Regions from separate parts of the Homo sapiens genome. Here regions 1 and 2 are each linked to region 3. The links are contacts of gene promoters, found by promoter capture Hi-C in human tissues and cell types (Jung and others, 2019). All regions are on one chromosome and are shown on one strand. The core of a region is centred on a gene start or on the middle of the fragment in contact, and the rest is flanking DNA. Distances in the headings are between cores, read along the strand shown. Region 1 overlaps GABRG3 (gamma-aminobutyric acid type A receptor subunit gamma3). Region 2 overlaps GABRG3 (gamma-aminobutyric acid type A receptor subunit gamma3). Region 3 holds the start of OCA2 (OCA2 melanosomal transmembrane protein).

Region 1 (3,145 bases), core at 531-3,030, 1.1 Mb after region 3:
CTCTGATGCACTGCTGGTGAACATATATATCAAGTTAATTTTTATGGAAAGTTTGCATCCTTTGGACAAGTAGTTCCACTTCCAAAGGTACAAATTAGGGAAAAACTGTCATGGTAAATTGAAATTGGCCACAAACTCTACCACCAAGGGTAGACTCTACTTGATCTAGGTCAGACTTGCAGCTTGCTTTGACTAACAGAATATCATAAAAGTGATGCTGTATGAATTCTGAACAAGACTTGCTTCTAGTCTCATCCAAATTCCGACTGCTCCTATATGAATAAGCTCACACTAGACACCTTGAGACAGAGCAAGCCCCTGTCTCAAAATTAAAAGAGTGAAATTCTGTCCTTTGCAGCAACGTGGCTAGAGCTGAAGCTTCTTCCAGTTCTAGATCAGAGGCTTGAGCACAACGAATAAGAGAAAGGGTAAAAGAGGATAACATGATTTTGTTTCCTATATAGTAATTGACTCAAAAGTTTGTTCAAGGTCTCACAATTTCTTTTTAACTTAAAAATAAAAATAATATCTAAAGAAAAAAATGAAATGCTGCACTCAAAGCACACTGCTTCATTAAGATATTTAACAATTTAAAGCTGGGCGTGGTGGCCTGCTCCTGTAGTCCCAGCTACTCGGGAGGCTGAGGCAGAAGAATTGCTTGAACCCGGGAGGCGGAGGTTGCAGTGAGCCGAGATTGCACCACCGCACTCCAGCCTGGCGACAGAGAGAGACTCCATCTCAAAAATAAATAAATAAATAAAATAAAATAAGATATTTAACAATTTAAATATTGAGGGAAAATGTTAAATAGTTTAGACAAATACTGCCATGATCCTGCTAGAAAATTTCTAAAACTGTTATACCACCTGTACCCCCAATAACTTACAGAAAAATAAAATAGAATAAAATAAAATAAAATGCTATCTTTGCATGACCACCCGGAGGGGCCCAGCTATTCTTGCCTTTCCAGTCACCCCGCTGAGGCCCAGATGGGCCAATGGAGCCACTGGGCACCATCCAGCCAGTCCTCCAACTGCCTGTAGACATATTAGGTATGTCCAGCCCAGCTGACTCCCGCTCACAATGCCAGTCCACACAGTCATCAGTCGTAGGCCAGTGAATCTTAAGGCGGTTTATTTTACAGCAATATGTAACTAATACAAATGTCGAATGCAGGTAAAAAATTTCTGCATTGGTGTTGTTTATCATAATGAAAATTTTAAGACCAAATAAATGTCCGACAACTGGGAAACATAAAACAATCAAGATGCAGTTTAAAAACTATTTCATGGAGTGCTCAATGGTGCCCAGGCTGGAGTGCAGTGGCGTGATCTCGGCTGGCTACAACCTCCACCTCCCAGCCGCCTGCCTTGGCCTCCCAAAATGCCAAGATTGCAGCCTCTGCCCGGCCGCCACCCCGTCTGGGAAGTGAGGAGTGTCTCTGCCTGACCGCCCATCGTCTGGGATGTGAGGAGCCCCTCTGCCTGGCTGCCCAGTCCGGAAAGTGGGGAGCGTCTCTGCCCGGCCGCCATCCCATCTAGGAAGTGAGGAGCGCCTCTTCCCGGCCGCCATCACATCCAGGAAGTGAGGAGCGTCTCTGCCCGGCCGCCCATTGTCTGAGATGTGGGGACCGCCTCTGCCCCGCCACCCCGTCTGGGATGTGAGGAGCGTCTCTGCCCGGCCGCCCCGTCTGAGAAGTGAGGAGACCTTCTGCCTGGCAACTGCCCCATCTGAGAAGTGAGGAGCCCCTCCGCCCGGCAGCCACCCCGTCTGGGAAGTGAGGAGCCTCTCCGCCCGGCAGCCACCCCGTCCGGGAGGGAGGTGGGGGGGTCAGCCCCCCGCCCGGCCAGCCGCCCCGTCCGGGAGGGAGGTAGGGGGGTCAGCCCCCCGCCGGGTCAGCCGCCCCGTCCGGGAGGGAGTTGGGGGTTCAGCCCCCCGCCCGGACAGCCGCCCCGTCCGGGAGGGAGGTGGGGGGTCAGCCCCCCGCCCGGCCAGCCGCCCCGTCCAGGAGGTGAGGGGCGCCTCTGCCCGGCCGCCCCTACTGGGAAGTGAGGAGCCCCTCTGCCCGGCCAGCCGCCCCGTCTGGGAGGGAGGTGGGGGGGTCAGCCCCCCCCGCCCGGCCAGCCACCCCGTCCTGGAGGTGAGGGGCGCCTCTGCCCAGCCGCCCCTACTGGGAAGTGAGGAGCCCCTCTGCCAGGCCACCACCCCGTCTGGGAGGTGTACCCAACAGCTCATTGAGAACGGGCCATGATGACAATGGCGGTTTTGTGGAATAGAAAGGGGGGAAAGGTGGGGAAAAGATTGAGAAATCGGATGGTTGCCATGTCTGTGTAGAAAGAAGTATACATGGCAGACTTTTCATTTTGTTCTGTACTAAGAAAAATTCTTCTGCCTTGGGATCCTGTTGATCTGTGACCTTACCCCCAGCCCTGTGCTCTCTGAAACATGTGCTGTGTCCACTCAGGGTTAAATGGATTAAGGGCGGTGCAAGATGTGCTTTGTTAAACAGATGCTTGAAGGCAGCATGCTCGTTAAGAGTCATCACCACTCCCTAATCTCAAGTACCCAGGGACACAAACACTGCGGAAGGCCGCAGGGACCTCTGCCTAGGAAAACCAGAGACCTTTGTTCACTTGTTTATCTGCTGACCTTCCCTCCACTATTGTCCTATGACCCTGCCAAATCCCCCTCTGCGAGAAACACCCAAGAATGATCAATAAAAAATAAATAAATAAATAAATAAATAAATAAATAAATATAAAATAAAAATACAAAATTAAAAAAAATAAAAAATAAAAAAATAAAAACTATTTCATGATACTTGAATACCAACGATATAAGGCTATGTGAGAAAAACCAAATTCTGTAATTTATAAATGTAATAGAAGCTTGAAGAAAACATATTTAAATATTCACATGTGATAGTTTCTGGATAGGGGCATATGGTTTTTGTTTTGTTTTGTTTATTTATTGTATTTTATTTTATTTAATTTTCGAGTCAGGGTCTCATTCTGTTACCCAGGCTGGAATACAGTGATGCAATCGTAGCTCACTGTAACCTCAAACTCCTGGGCTCAGGCAATCCTCCCACCTCAGCCTCCCAAGTAGCTGGGACCACAGGCACACACCACCAGATCTAGCTATT
Region 2 (3,413 bases), core at 577-3,076, 1.1 Mb after region 3:
CCATCCTACAAGGTTGACTATTGTATAATTTGAAGTATGTGACACTTAGGAAAAAGCAAAACTATGGAAACAGTAAAAATATCAGTGGTTGCCAGCGTCTGGGGATAGGAAGGGATAAACAGGTGGAGCACAGAGGATTTAAGGGCAGTGCCACTGTTCTTAAGATACTATAGTGGCAGATACATGGCATTAGACATTTGTCGAAATCCATAAAATAAACAACACCAAGAGTGAATCCTAATGTAAGCCATAGGCTTTGCATGATAAAGATGGATTAAGGTGCATTCATTCATTGTAACAAATACAATACACTAATGCAAGATGTTAATAATAATGTGTTATGTGTTGTATGTGTGTGTGTGTGTGTGTGTGTGTCTGTGTGTGTGTAGAGGAAAATATATAGGGGAACTCTACTTTCTGCTCAATTTTTATGTAAACCTAAAAATGCTCAAAAAATTTATTAATTTAATTCTTTTAAAAAACACAGAAAAGTAATCCTAACACTGAGCCTTTTGTGTCTATGTTAAGGCTGTGGCCCTACAGGTATGTACAGCTGCTGTGTGTCCATATTGACTAGGAAACAAAGCCAGGGCTTTGTTGCCAAGCAGGTCACACTCAGAACCTTGCTCTAAGATGTCTTCCACAAGCTTCCACTTACTGGACTCAAACAAGCAGGAAGGTCAATATCTTCTCCACTATGGTCTTGTGAAGATTAAAGGATTTGGGGTCAATAGCACAGAGTGTCAGAACATTGGTTTTCTTCTTTGCTTTCCTAAAAGGCTGCTTGAAGTGGATATTCTCAAAAATAAACTCACAAGCCCCCTTGCATGCAGCTTTCCTGGTGTGGAAACAAACCACACACACTTTCTTTGATGAATGCTACACATTTAGGTATGTTGCAGCGACAAAGGCAGAGGATGCTGTGAAAGCTTCATGTAGAGGAACATTCCCCTGGTCCCGTTTCTAATCTCGATAACTAGAAAAAGCATAAACAGCTCCAGGATAAACAAGACAAAGATAATCTATTAAACAATAGATTGAGACACAACTTCATTTCCACTCCACAGAAGGAATGGCTGAGGCAGAATCTTCAGTGTTAATAATATCAATAAAAGGCAGAAAGTGTGAAAGAAGGAGGAGGAAGAAGAGGAAGGAGAAAGTGAAATAGTCATTGTTCCCTGTTTCATTGATTGTTAAATGACTATTTGGACAAGAAGCCATAATTTTACCAGGCTTTACCTTTACGGTCAAACCCCCAATACAAATTTACATCCTTAAACCCTGTCTGCATCTCTAAATTGTGCTTCTTCTCATCTTGTATTCTTTGATTGTTTTAGTCTTTCTTATATCCTTTTTTATTGCTAACTCAATCCCCAATACCCACCTACACCGTCAGTTCTCTACTTTAAAATTTCTATTATTTTTCCTAAGATCTGTGTTTCATTTTTAAGCCCTTTACTTCTTTTAAAATTGCGTCGTTTGGTTGCACAGATATAGCGGGTCTATGTGATGCACTCGGCAATGTGAGATGCCCTTATCATTCTGGCGTCCCAGCAAAGCATTCCCAGCACAAAGGTAAGAAACACTCATTCTTCCAGAAGTGGTCCCCGAGGCCCCTGCCTCCTGAGGGCTTTGAAACTTCCCTCAGGCCAGCCAGAGCCTGCCAGCTCGGGGCTGCTTAGAAGGGAACCTACCTCCACTGTGGCACTCAGCTCATCCACAGACTTGCCCCACCAAAGCAGGCCTTGGTTCCTCGTGTCTCACCTTCACCCAGGACAATGCCTCACACTAGTCGGATGGCAAATGTGCGTGAAGGAACAGAGAGAGACACACAGCAACTCACCCAAGGAGAACATGGGAATTAAACATATAAATGTGCGTGTGTGTGCGTGTGTGTGCGCCTGTATGTGTGCGTGTGATGCATGTGTGCACACGTACGTGTGTGCCTGTGTGTGTGCACGAGTGTGTGCATGTGTGCATGCGTGTGTGTGTGTGTGTGTGCATTTTAAACAAATCCTTGCCTGCCCTCTATGCTTTGCTGAGCCGAGGTAGGCTAGTAGTACGTTGTGTCTTCCTCAGGAAATCAGACTCCAGAATGGCCTAGACAGTGCCATCCCTGCTGAGCGCTGACTGCGGCCTCGGCGCTGTTTGCAGAGGAAAGCACTTGCTAGCATTCGGCTTCCCCAGGGCTGCGTGCCAGCTGCTTCCAACTCACACAGCAGCAGGCAGCCACACAGGCTCCCCACCCCTTCAGTAGGGTAGAGAGCCATGCTAGAAAGAAAACCAACTGGACTAAGTGAAGTTTCAAAATATTCAGGGCAAGTTTTACAAATGAGAGAGTTAATAGAAAATAGCTTTCTACTCCACATCCTGCCACAGCTCAGCCTTGGAAACCTGCTGTGTCAGCCTCCAGATGAGCAGGATGCTGGTGCACACGTGTTCTTCTCCAGGGCCCAGGGCTTACAATGCCCCCGGCCATTCTAAGGTCGTTTCTCACCCCACAGGGAAGGATCAGAGTTCATGATTTCAAGTCCCTAATGTGAGCTCTGCATCATCATGTAGTTTTTGTTTTTTTTCAGGGAGAGAGGGGTCTGACTAGCGATCTTACTGGATTTTTTTTTTTTTTTTTTTTTGAGATGAAGTCTAGCTCTGTCACCCAGGCTGGAGTGCAGTGGCTCAATCTTGGCTCACTGCAACCTCCGCCTCCTGGATTCAAGCGATTCTTCTGCCTCAGCCTCTCGAGTAGCTGAGACTACAGGCGCCTGCCACCATGCCCAGCTGATTTTTTATATTTTTAGTAGAGTCAGGGTTTCATCACGTTGACCAGGCTGGTCTCGAACTCCTGACCTTGTGATCTGCCTGCCTCAGCCTCCCAAAGTGCTGGGATTACAGGCGTGAGCCACTGTGCCCGGCCTGGATTTGAACAAATCTCATGAAATATGACCTGCTCAGATCTCTGATGGGAAAAGGTTTTCACAGTTTCCAAACGCAGGGATCTGTTTTGGATGAAGAGAAGGCTGAGGTCCGACCCTTAACTGCAGCTTCAGGGCCTTGGTCACAGCTGCCCCCATGTGCCCCTCCAGGCATCTCTCCACACATCACTCCCTCGTCCCCAGCTGTGTGACGCACTCTGTCCTCCTGTGTTACTAAGGACCTTCAAACTTTATCCCACCTAGCACACTCTTGCCTATCCGTCAAGTTTCAGATGAAGAGGACCTCACTGGAGAAGTCCCTTCCACTCCTGCAGCAGGGCCGTATCACCGTGAAGGAGCCTGTCACTCACTCGGCCTCCTTCTCTGCAGCCCGTGATTTCCACATGAAAATTCCCGTCTATTCCAATAACAAAGCCTAACACGAGGCACAAAGTAAATTCTAAAGTTAAAGGCCTGCAGGAAAATCCCTCTATATGCAAA
Region 3 (3,184 bases), core at 479-2,978:
GCCCCAGCCCCTTCCCGCCCTGTAACAGTGTCCCTGAGGCACTGGGAGGGGAGCAGGTGCAGTGATGAGCGAGGAGGAGACAGTATTTCTGGGACGGGAACTGGTGCATCGGTGGTCACAGGCTCCCTGGAGCCGCCATCCCACAAGGATGGGGGTCACCATGCAGGCTGCTTGCCAGCCATATCCACACCTAACGCACACGGCGGTCTGAACTGAGGGGTCTGCACATGCGACAGTGAATGTGGTCTCAGAGATCTCGGGCTCTCCTGCTGTCAGGGCCCTGGCTGGGAACTTCAGTGTCCTGGAGCCTGCCATGCCGAGGACATCCTCGGTCCCTGCTACCAGGGCAACCCCTGGCCCACCCTGTGGCTGTGCAATGTGCTCTGTTATAAGGCATGAGATCTCTTTCAGCTCTGCTGTTACACTGTGGATGGAGCCTCTTACTTCCTGCCAATTCCTGTGCAGGGCCTGGCCACTGCAGCTGTGTGTGTGTCTGTAGCTGTGTTGTCTCCATGTGTTTGTGCGTGTATCTGTGTGTGTGTCTGTATCTGTGTGTGTATCTGTGTGTGTCTGTGCGTATATCTGTGTTTGTATATCTGTATATGTGTATCTGCGTGTGTGTCTGTGCATGTATCTGTGTGTGTGTCTGTATGTGTCTATGTATCTGTGTATCTCTGTGTCTGCGTATCTGTGTGTCTGTGTATCTCTGTGTGTAGATCTCTGTATCTGTGTGTATCTGTGCATGTGTGTATCTGTGTGTCTGTATCTGTGTGCCTGTGTATATCTGTGTCTGTGTATCTCTGTGTGTGTCCGTGTGTGTATCTGTGTGTGTCTCTGTATCTCTGTATCTGTATGTATCTCTGTATCTGTATCTGTGTGTCTGTACCTGTGTCTGTGTATCTGTGTCTGAGTATCTGTATATATTTGTGTGTGTCTGTGTATCTGTGTCTGTGTGTATATCTGTGTATCTGTGTGTATCTCTGTGCCTGTGTGTGTGTCTCTGTGTATCTGTGCATGTGTCTGTGTGTATCTGTGTATGTGTGTCTGTGTATCTGCATGTGTCCTTGTGTGTCATCTGTGTATCTGTGTCCTGTATCTGTGTGTCTGTGTATTGCTGTGTCTCTGTGTGTGTCTCTGTGTATGTGTATCTGTGTATCTGTGTCTGTGTATATCGTGTCTATCTCTGTATCTGTGTGTGTGTCTGTGTGTATCTGTGTGTGTCTGTGTATCTGTGTGTGTCTGTGTATCTCGTGTGTGTGTCTGTGCTGCAGGAGGGGCTGTCGGCAAGTGTAACCTTGGCGTCCTAGCTGGAGGGCCTCTCAGTGCCCGCTGGGAGAGCTCTGAAGGGAACAGAATGTTCACTGAGCATTTCCCCGTTCTTGTTCATAGGGAAAAGCCTGTCCGCAGTCCTGGGCCGCCTCTTTAGAGGTAAAGCTGGAAACTATCCCCGCGGAGAGCGCTGTCGGGGACGCCGGGGCGGCGTGGCCTTAGACGGAGCTGCTCTCAGCCCGCGCCGCCGGGGGCTGGGGAGCTGAGGGGCCGGGGGTGCGGAGCGGGCGAGCTGTGGGCGGGGCCATGTGGGCAGCTTTGTGGGCGTGGCCGGGAGGGGCGTGCTACGGGCGTGGCCGCACTGTGGGCGGGGCCGAGTGGGGAGTGCTGTGGGCGGGGCCGGGCCGGGGGCGTGCCTGGGTGGGGGACCCGCTGCGGGAGCGCCGAGCTCCCTCTGAGTTCTTACTTCGAAGGCTGTGCTCCGCTCACCATCCAGAGCGGAGGTGCGGACCTTAAACTCACTCCTGGAGAAAGATCTGCAAGTGCGCAGGTAAAGTGCACGTGCTCCGCGGTCGGGAGGAAGGAGGCGAGGAGCCAGACTAGCCTGGGAACAGGCAGGGAGGGTTTACACAGCCCCGGCTGAGTCGCGGCTTAGGAAGCAAGGCAAGTTCCCCTAAAGGTTAGTGTGCACAGACGGGTGCGACGGAGCCGACCTAGCGCGGCTGAGTCCGCCTGGGCCTGCAGCAGCTGCCCCCTGAGCACCCCCTCCGGCTCTCTGCCAGGCGACCCAGGAAAAAGTCGCCCCCTGGTGGGCCATGAGGTCATGGGTGGGGGGAGTTTGGAAAGGTTCAGACAGCAAATGTTCCACTTGAACTCCAGGGCAGCATCTGGCACTGCGGGGCCTCCTAGCCATGAGCCGTGGTCAGGCGTTTCCTTAGAATGGAATGCACTGGAGTGAAAACACTAAATCCCTCAAAGCTGCTTCTCTTTACTGTGGTCACACACAGTGAAATCAATGGGCATTAGTGCAGCTAGCTCTTTTCAAGGACACAATGTTAAGCACAGGAAGCCTGGTATGTGGACGCTCTGGGTTTGCAGAACCAGGCAGGGGCCAGGGGCTCAGGACAAGTGCCCGGTGCTCCCTTCCCATTGGGCGAATCAGAGCCTGGGGCCCGGCGGTGAAGCTCCCCAGGTGACTCTAATGTGCAGTGCACTTTGAGGAGCACTACTTAGACCAATGTGACAGTCTACAATGTGTAGATTTAGGGTGAGTGATTCTGAGGAAAAGAAACCCGAGGCTGTTAGCAGTTGTGGGCAGCTGCTGTCTACCTAAACCAGCTGCGGTTTGCTTGCTTGGTGAGCCTGAGCTTCGCGGGGCGGGCATGGCATCTGCCATCCAGGACCCTGGGACGGGGCCTGCCAGGGCAAGGAGCTGAGCATTGAACGCATCTGGGGATAACTATCTCTCATAGAAGAACTAATGAGGATTGAACCTGAACACAGAGATGAAAGAGCTGAGTAGACTGCAAAGAATTGCACAAAAACTGCTTGTTCTGCAAATTTAGTTTACAACAATTTGAGTGCAGTTCACATTGGTGTAATGTGATTTAGGATCATAAGTCCCTAAAGTTTCATTACACTGATGAAAAGCAAATGCCTATACTGTTCTTGTTTTATGAGAAGAACGCAACCTCCAGCCCCTGGAGCAGCTGAGATCTGAGGATATCAGGAATACCAGGAATGGGGAGGTCCTGGCTGTCCCTGGAAACCCAGCGGCATGACACCTGTGTCACCTGGGTCCCCGTTTCTATGCTGGAGTGGCAGGCAGCAAGGAAATATTTTGAGTTTGAGGCCATATGCATTTTGGAAAGATCACTGTGGCTGGGGGGTTGGGAGCAGCTGGGGAGTTGAAGAA

What was found. The method cuts DNA at HindIII sites, captures the fragments that hold promoters and counts their contacts. A contact is called where the count stands out against the background at its distance.
Region 1: a contact is called between a fragment that was not itself captured here and the fragment with the promoter of OCA2 in region 3, in 1 of the 25 tissues and cell types used here (dorsolateral prefrontal cortex).
Region 2: a fragment that was not itself captured here is called in contact with the fragment with the promoter of OCA2 in region 3 in 1 of the 25 tissues and cell types used here (dorsolateral prefrontal cortex).

What each region holds. Positions count from the first base shown.
Region 1 is chr15:27,002,815-27,005,959 of GRCh38, reverse strand. The region is part of intron 2 of GABRG3 (gamma-aminobutyric acid type A receptor subunit gamma3); the gene reads right to left. Among named protein-coding and RNA genes, the nearest start is that of GABRG3, 33 kb to the right of the region's middle. The HindIII fragment of the contact is 3,227 bases long and covers 167-3,145 here.
Region 2 is chr15:27,028,026-27,031,438 of GRCh38, reverse strand. The region is part of intron 3 of GABRG3 (gamma-aminobutyric acid type A receptor subunit gamma3); the gene reads right to left. Among named protein-coding and RNA genes, the nearest start is that of GABRG3, 59 kb to the right of the region's middle. The HindIII fragment of the contact is 3,286 bases long and covers 184-3,413 here.
Region 3 is chr15:28,097,859-28,101,042 of GRCh38, reverse strand. OCA2 (OCA2 melanosomal transmembrane protein) reads left to right here and starts at 1,728. Exons shown (of 24, transcript NM_000275.3): 1 at 1,728-1,819. RefSeq lists an enhancer at 1,781-2,433. The HindIII fragment of the contact is 22,507 bases long and covers 1-3,184 here.